Linked DNA regions of Homo sapiens: region 1 is linked to region 2. The links are contacts of gene promoters, found by promoter capture Hi-C in blood cells and fetal thymus (Javierre and others, 2016). All regions are on one chromosome and are shown on one strand. The core of a region is centred on a gene start or on the middle of the fragment in contact, and the rest is flanking DNA. Distances in the headings are between cores, read along the strand shown. Region 1 overlaps CDK6 (cyclin dependent kinase 6). Region 2 holds the start of HEPACAM2 (HEPACAM family member 2).

Region 1 (4,553 bases), core at 1,142-3,641, 410 kb before region 2:
ACATGTTTGGAAATTTAAGAATCCATGGATTAAAGAATATATAACTAAAAATGGCTTAAAATAACCCAAATTGAATGAAAATTAAGCCACAACATATTCAAATTTGTGGGAAGATGCATATATTTGAAGATCCAAGCTTCTATTTTAAGAAGCTAAAACTAAGAACAAATTAAACCCAATGTAAGTAGGAAAAGAAGATAAAAACAAAATAAGTATCAAGAGACCACAGACAAACAGAAGTGAAAATTAATGAAACAAAAAACTGGATTATCATCAATAAAACTGACAAAACTCTATCTGTATGTCAAGATAAAAAGAGGAAAATGCAAATTACCAATATCAGGAATAAAAGAGTGGACATCACTACATATTCTACAGACATTAAAAAAGATAAGGAGTTAAAGAATCTATACCAATAAACTACCACCCCCCCAAAAAAACCCTAGGATAGACAAATCCCTTGAAAAATACAAAATTATAAAAGGTGATCTAACCTATAAGGTCTCATATCTATTAAGAAAATATAATTTGTAGTTAATAACCTACTCAAAAATAAATGCTAGGCCCAGATGACTTCATTAGTAAATTCTGTTAAATGTTTAAGAAAGAAAGAATGCCAATCCTACACAAAATCTTTCAGAAAATAGAAGAGGAAGAAACACTTCTCAACTCGTTTTATGAAGCCAGCATTACCTCAGAACAAAAATCAGAGTTATTATAAAAAAAATTATAGGCCAATATCATTCATGAATATTCTTAACAAAATTTTAGCAATATATAAAAAGGCTACATCATGACCAAGTAGGGTTTATCCCAGGAATGTGAGCTTGGTTTAACTTTCAAAATTCAATCAGTATAATTCACAGCACAATAACAGAGTTTTTAAAAAAATAATCAATTCAATTCTTCAGAAAAAACACTGACAAAATTCAGTACCCAATCATGAAAAACTCTCTAAGCAAACTAGGAATATAAGGGAACTTCATCAATCTGATAAAGGACACCTAGGAAAACTTACAGCTAACATCATACTTTAGGGCAAAAGTCTGAATAGTTTTCTCCTTATTATTGGGAACAAGCCAAAAACATCTGCTCTCACCACTTTTATTTGACATTTTTCTAGAGGTTCTAGCCAGGGCAAAAAAAGAAAGGAAAAGAAATAAAAGACATATATATATATAGGGGGGAAAGTACAACTGTCTATTCTCAGATGATGTGTCTGTGTATGTAAAAAAACTAAAATTTACAAAGAAGCTACCAGACTAATAAGGGAGTTTTTCAGATCACAAGACACAAGGTCACTATACAAAAAAGACTATAGCTCTCAATGACAAACACTTAAAAAGAAAAAACAATGCCTTTTACAATAACATCCAAAAACATTAAATGCAAAGAGATAAATTTAATAAAATGCAAGCAAGGGCATTACACTAAAAGCTACAAAACTCTGATGAGAGAAATTAAAGACCTAAATAAATGAAGAGATACACCATGTTCGTGATCAGAAGTCAGTGTCAATATCTATGCCTTCGCCCTAATTAATAGAGATTAAATGCTATCCCAATAGGAGAATTTTTGTGTTAACTAACAAGCTGACTCTAAAATTTATATGAAAATACAAAAGAAGAGCAACAACAATTTTGAAAAACAAGAACAAAGCTGGAAAATGTATACTACCTGATTAAGACCTATACATTATAGTAATCAAAGTATGACATTGGCAAAAGGATAGATATATAGATCAATGCAAAAGAACAAAGAGTCTAAAAACAGGCCCAAATGTATATGCTCAACTAATGTTTAGCAAAGCTGCCAAGGTAATTCAAAATGAAGAAAGCAAAGTATTTTCAATAAATGGTGCGGAAATAGCTGGATATCCATACAGGAAAAATGAACCTGAACTCTTAGCTCAAGCCAAACACAAAGACTTGACTTGAATGCATCACAAATCTAAAATAAAAGCAAAAACTATAAAATTCTAGAAGAAAACATAGGAAAAATCCTATATGCCCTGGAGGTAAACAAATATTTATTAGATAGGATACAAAAAAGCATAAGCTATCAAAGAAAAAAAAAGATGAATTGGACTTAGGTTAAATTAAAATATTCTGTTTGACATAAAGCATTAAGGAAATGAAAAGGTAAGCCAAAGACCTGAAGAAAATATTTGTAATCCATGTAGCTGACAAAAGACTGCTCAAGAACTCTTACAATACAATAAGATAACTCAATTTTAAAAAACGGTCAATTTGAACAGAAACTTCCCAACAGAAGGTATCAGAATGGTCAATAGCCAAATGAAAAGATATTCAACAACATTAGTCATCAAGTAAATGCAAATTAAAATCACAATGTGTTATTAGTTCACACTCACTATAGAATGACTAAAAATAAAAAGATTGACAGTCCCAAGTGTTCAGGAGGGTGCAAATCAAATGGAACCTTTATACACTAGCACTGGAAATGGAACAACCAGTTTGGAGAAGTTTGACAATTTCTTAAAAATTAAATACACAATTGCCATACCAGTCAGCAATCTACCTGTAGGTATTTACCATACAAATGAAGCATATGTCATATCAATACAAAGACCTGTACACAAATATTCACAACAGCCTTATTTATAACAGCCCTAAACTGGAAACAACAGAAATGATCATCAGCAGGTGAATGAATAAACAAATTGTGGTAAATCCATATAATGGAAAATGAACTACTCAAACAGTCAACAACATAAATGAATCTCAAAAACACTATCAATGAAAGCCAGATATAATAGAACATAATACTCTTTGATACTGTGTATATGAAACTCTAGAAAGGACAAATCTATAATGACAGAAAGAAGATTAGGTTGGCAGGGGTCCTGGTAGAGGGAGGAGATTCACTGCAAAGGGCCCTGTGGGATAATGCGAGTATTTTAGATATTGATTGTGGTGGTGGTTAGTAGGTGAATAAATTTGTCGAAACTCATAAAAAGCACACACTTAAAATGGGTGTATTTTACTGTATAAAAATTATACCTTTAGCTCGTTTTGACTTTAAAAAAGCCAAAGGATATTCAAAGATCACCAGGCATTTAAAAAATTCAGCCACAGGAAAAACAAAAAAGTTAACCAAAAAAACTAAACACTGACAGAAACAGAGATAATGTGGAGGACTTTAAAAAAATTCACAGTAATTCAAAGAAATATTACAGAAAACCAGAGGAGGATGCTTTAAAAACCAACAAGTGGAGAACAAAAAATGATGTTTTGAAGTTAAAAATATTAATTACTGAGAGTAAATTCAGTAGACATTTGGAAAATAATATAGAAGTTTCTTTAGAATACAAAGCAAAAACCAGAGAAAAGAGATGAATTAGAAAAAAGATTAAAAGAAGAGACACAGAGATCCCAACTGCAAGATCAAATATCTGACTAACAGAAGAACCTTGTAAAGAGAATAGAACAAATGATGAAGAAGCAGCCATTAAAAAAAATAAAACGAAGCAAATCTGCACTTAGAAAGATTCCACAGAATGCCCAGCAAATTAAATGGTGGCGGGAAACCCACCATATGTAGACACATAGTATTTCTGGAGAACACAGATTGTGATAAAGGCAAACATGGCAAGAAAAAATAAAAAGGCAATTAGAAACTCCAGGAAAAACAAAATGATACAAGAAAGTCATGGCCTGAATAAAAAGTACACGAAAATAGGGCATATTTTAAACAAGTGATGCAGAATAAGGAAAGAGAATCCAGATGTCTGTTTTTACAAAAGAAGGACTCCATCAGCTTCATAGGGTTATAATGTTGAACCTGGAGAGAAGGAAACATAAGGGCTGAATATTTGGCCTAGCACTGAACTCTCTCTATATAGTCAGAAGAATGTAAGCACTGTTTACCAGTGTTCAACTTGCAAGGGTCAACCTTTAGAAAAGCAGGGAAGCCTCTGTTGCAGTACGGAACAGAATGCAAATAAACAATTTTAGCAAAGTAGCTGATAGAAATTGTGATGTTAAAGGGAGAACATAAGTGGAAGAAAGGTTACGGGGATAAAATATTCTCCTCTTACTAAATGGAGAATCAAGAGATACTGCCCAAAGTGAAAGTATGAAAAATTGAAGTTTAGGGATATTATTTAAAATTATTATATGAAATAAAAATATCCCTATCTCACAGAAAGCGAAGGAAATACACAGTAATATTAACAAGGTAAGTCCTCATTTTTCAGAGTAGAAAGTCAATAGATATTACTGAAGTTTAAATATCAAGAACTAGAGCAACAGCATATTATCTAAATTTATGGAGACCATAAACAGAAGCACCAAAAACAGACAGTGAAAAGAAGCTGTATCTGAGTACTGGGAATAGGAATAGCTGTATCTGAGAACTGGGGCAGGAGCTTTGCCTTTTTATCATAAGCCCTTTCATACTATTTAGTATTAGTATTAATGTCATGATTACAAAAAAGCTGGGGGTGGGGGGGTGGAAATTCTTTAACATTCCTTCCATTAAGAGGTGGTGTATGTCTCTACCTCTTGAATCTCTGGGGCTTTGAACTCAAA
Region 2 (4,506 bases), core at 108-2,607:
AAGTTCTTCTTAACGCCAGTTTCAAAAACAACACTTATAAAATGATAGTAGTCCTACTGTTTTAAATATAAAAATAAGTGGGATGATGACCCAGGATACTTTCAAAAGGAAGACAAATGCACAAAGGTAGTGACAGTTATAATAATTATTTACTTTTTCAAAAAATTTTAGAAAACAAAAATCTATTATAGGCTTAAATTTGATAACATAAATACTGTGATAACTGGAACAATCACAACTCTGGGAAACTCAAAGACTTAAAAAAATTTACAAACTGTACATTTCAAATGTGTGAGATAGGTACAACAGTAGGTATGAATTTGAATAATAACATTTACAATGCAAACTTTAACAAAATATAGGAGTGAAAGTAAAGCTCTAAATAGCTGAAGAAGCCTAAAAGTTAAATTGCTTATTTTGCTAAGCTGTTCTTAATTTTTAAAAAATGTAGCCTTAATTGAACTCCTATCTGTTGAATATAAACAAAACAAGAAATTGATTTGACTTTTAAAACTGATAAATAGGAAGAATGGAAATGAGAACATCTGGTGAAAATAATGTTGACAGACAGCAGTTGGAATGCTGGAAAGAGACTCCTTTAAACTCAAAAGATAAAGAGGAGAATGAGGGAAAATATTAAGGTAGAAAAAAATTCTTAATAGGACTAGCCATTGGGCAAAGAGAAAAGCTAAAGGCATTTTGGAGTAACAATCTTTTCAAATACGTTCTCCCTTTTGTGTAGGAAATTTTTTTGTTAGTTTGGAATCTTACCTTTCTTCCATATTTCATAAGATGAGACAGATAACTTAAAACGAAGCAGTAAACAGTTTGCAACAATATCTTTAATTAAAAAGAAAACAATTTTCGTAAATTATTTGTAGTTTCACTCTAAGTGGTCACAATTTCATGGCCTATTAGAATATTTGCTGAAATAAATGCATTAAAGACTATTGAACCTATATGTAAACTCTAAAAGAAGAAATTCATTATCTTTTAAAAATATCTGAATTATCTTAATGAGTGCTATGACAATAATTGTTGTTCCAAGAAAACAATAACAATCTATTTATTGAAACTCATTTCTCTTAAATGTTCCTGCTTCTTTGCTGTAACAGTGTGTTATTGTTAAAAGGTTCTGACCTGCTCTTCAATTATCTGAATGCATCTACAGCCTAAAGCAAATATTTACCTTATGTCCACAATTAAAAAAAAAAAACCTAACAAACAGCTAAAACACAATTCACACAGGGCCTTACCGAAGAGAAGGAGGTATATTTTGCACTGAAAGACCCCAAGTGTGTCACCGAAGGGCTCCATGAAAGCATCCTGTCCCATGCATGCAGTGCCCTGTTCTCAGTGGTAACTTGGACCAGCAGCTGCTGGTTTATTTGCTAGGGAAATTAGCAGTGAGGTAACAGACCCTATCTTGCCTCTTGCTTCTGTGATTTGAATACAGAATGAATGTGTATACAAAGGACACAGGGAGTGGGAACACCTGTTATGTGCTTAGCAAGAATACAGGCTTATGGCTTTCAGAAGAGTTTCTTAGCAACTACCAGTAATTGTCTATATATTTCATAAATTATACTTAGTTATTAAAAAATCACATGAAGGAAAACATCCTTTTGCGTGACTTTACTGAAAAATGGCATGTTTTCATAATGAAAGAATATTGTGAGATTTCCTTAAAAACAAAAGCTGGTTTTCTATCATGCAGAACTATGCCATTATTATTTTAAAATTAAAAAAAATTATATGAAAATTGAAGTAGCTCATGTATCTGCTAAACAGTTATAAATCTTCATGAAGTCACTAACATGTAAAAATTCTACCAATGAATCAAAAGAGAGATCCAGAATATATTTAAAACGTATTTTTTCTATGCAGTGTTTCCTATTACAATGACTGATTTCATTTAATCTTTGAATTCATCTTATTTTTAAAAGCAAATCACAGGTGTGTTTCCAACTGGGACTGAGGCATGGACCATGCATAATTATAATGAAAAGTGCATGCCAGGAGATAGTATCTGAGGCCACATTTTCACAGCTGATGCATAGAGGAAGTGAACCAATGATCTAGAAAAGATCTTACCTCTACTGCAGTGTCCAGGTTACAGGTTTTCAACCTGGTCTCTCCATTGTCATGGCAGCAGATAGTCTAAGCATGTCCGCTTAATTTACTAAGTTATTAGTTAACCCCTATTTGCAAGAAGGCTCTGGTTCTAGCCTTGTTATATAAAATGTTAAGGATATATCCAAATCTGCATCAAATCATCAAATCAAGGAAAATTCCTTGCATGCATCAGTTTTAACAGTAAAGGCCCACTGAAGAAGTTCAATGATAAGAGGGGAAGGAAGACTATACCTCAAGCATAATTAAAGTAAAAAAGGAATGATAGTAACTTTGGAATCCAAGTTTGGAAACACTCTTTGCATTAGGGCTCTGAACTCTTCTAGAAGGACTTCTATAAGCAAAGAAAGTAAGTGACTATTGGGAAAACGAAGTCCTCTTCAGAGATCAGTCACTTTCAGATCCCTCCATGCTTCAGAAAAATGGCAAGAGCTCCTCATGCTTCCCCCACCTCCCTGCAAAATAATAACAATGCCACAACTTTCTCTGCACTGTCTCTAAATCTGGTACACACATCTATTGCAGCACTTATCTCCTTAATCTTTATTTTATTGGATGTTTATTTTCCCTCTGAGCTCTCGAATACAGAGAATAATCTTATTCATTCATGGATGTTGGGCACGTAGCATAATGCTTAACTGGTATTTTTGTTAAGTTGTTTCTCCAGAAAACAAAACTCTAAGTGCTCCTTGGCCCGTCTTACGATTCTCAGTTGATGCGTAAGAAATACAAATAAATTTTAATATTGGATTGCACAAAATACAATTTGGAAAGTAATATGGAAGTTCTACAGATATCACATAGGTTCCCCCAACATCTTTTAGATTGATATTAATCTCCAATTGCCGTTATCAAATTAGCTGTTTTCAGTGTTTTTCAATCTAGTGCTGGATTATAATGAAGTTTGTTGGGTCCCTGGCAAAAAGAGAAATAAAGACAATGTACTGTGTTTTTCCCTAGTGTTAAATATACTCAATATAAAGGAGTTTTTTATTCTGAGATTTTCTTTGTTGTATTTGAAAATATTCCCTGTTTCATGACATAAGGTGATAGTAGATGCTACATTAAAAAATAAATGCCATATGAATCTTACTTGTAATCTTTTTATTTCATGGCACATATTGAAATATAATACGGCACATCTAGGGAAAGGGCTACTGGGATAATCATGACAAAGCGCCCTCTAGTGGTAAACTGTAGATATAAACTCTTACCTGCTGGAGTAACTTCTGATTTCAACATGTTTACACAGGAAGTGAGAAAAAGAGTGCTCAAGCTTAACTTCAACAATTGTTAATTTTTACATGATTCTTAAAAATAGTTTGAAGGTTTTATAATTATAAGAATTTTCCTACCATCCATATCTCACATCACACCTGTAACCCACTGGGAAGTTCTGCTGTTATCATTCCAGTCAGGAAAAAAGGGCCTGTAGTGTTACTGTTTACCAATCTTAGTTATATTTGCATTTAAAATGAGAAGGCTGATTAACCTAAAACAATCTATATCCACGGTGATTAAACTGCAAGCAATGTAAGGAGCCACTGGGATAGAGTATGCGTGTGTGTGTCCACGTGCATTTACAATGGGATATGGACACATATACTCCTGTGCAGGAGGGTGTGTGTGTGTGTGTGTGTGTGTATGTGTGTGTATGTTTGTTGGGGGCAGGGATTTTTATTACCTCTCAAATCACACTACACAGTTTACAATCTAGTTTATTTAAATTGCAGACTGGTATTACTTCATACAGTAAATGTCTGCTGCATGCATTTCAAACATCCACATTTTTAATCACAAGTAGCTAGCACACGCATGTTTTGCAGTGGCAGAAACAATTAAGGAGAGGTGGTGAAATGCCAAGGTCAATGTAGATGCAGAACAGTGGGGAATAAGAACTGGGGAAAGAAATGTTTCTTATTGTTGTAATTAGTGGATTCTCTCCAGTTTACAGGGAGAGTTAGCTGCCAGAGGAGGCTATCACATATGCCTATGCCTGTGCTAGTGTTCACTTCTGTAAAGTCTACAAAGCTGCCTCGTGGAAGCCTTGATCTATCTTATATGGCTGCTAAATACTAAGCAGTAATGTCTTCTTCCTGGGCACCTCTTTAGGTCACTACTTTACCTTTGGCAAGTGTTCTGTTTTCTGTTATGGCCTGCTCAAGAAGTGTAGTCATATCATCTTGGAGGGGCTGCATCTCTCCACTGCTTTGGTATTTGTGGAGTGGTAAGAAATTTTATCTTTCTAATCAAACCAGGATCTCAGCTTTTATTTAAGCTTCCAGACATTCCTCCTGTTTTGGGCCATTAGTAATATGCCCTTATCCTACTTTACTACTAATCCTATTGTTCTGAATCAGATCAATTTACTTA

Evidence for each region. The method cuts DNA at HindIII sites, captures the fragments that hold promoters and counts their contacts. A CHiCAGO score of 5 or more calls a contact.
Region 1: a fragment that was not itself captured here is called in contact with the fragment with the promoter of HEPACAM2 in region 2 in 1 of 17 cell types (neutrophils); the score reaches 5.8 in neutrophils.

What each region holds. Positions count from the first base shown.
Region 1 is chr7:92,816,514-92,821,066 of GRCh38, forward strand. The region is part of intron 2 of CDK6 (cyclin dependent kinase 6); the gene reads right to left. Among named protein-coding and RNA genes, the nearest start is that of CDK6-AS1, 18 kb to the right of the region's middle. The HindIII fragment of the contact is 4,514 bases long and covers 135-4,553 here.
Region 2 is chr7:93,225,112-93,229,617 of GRCh38, forward strand. HEPACAM2 (HEPACAM family member 2) reads right to left here and starts at 1,358. Exons shown (of 10, transcript NM_001039372.4): 1 at 1,257-1,358. The coding sequence starts at 1,335. The HindIII fragment of the contact is 7,149 bases long and covers 1-3,407 here.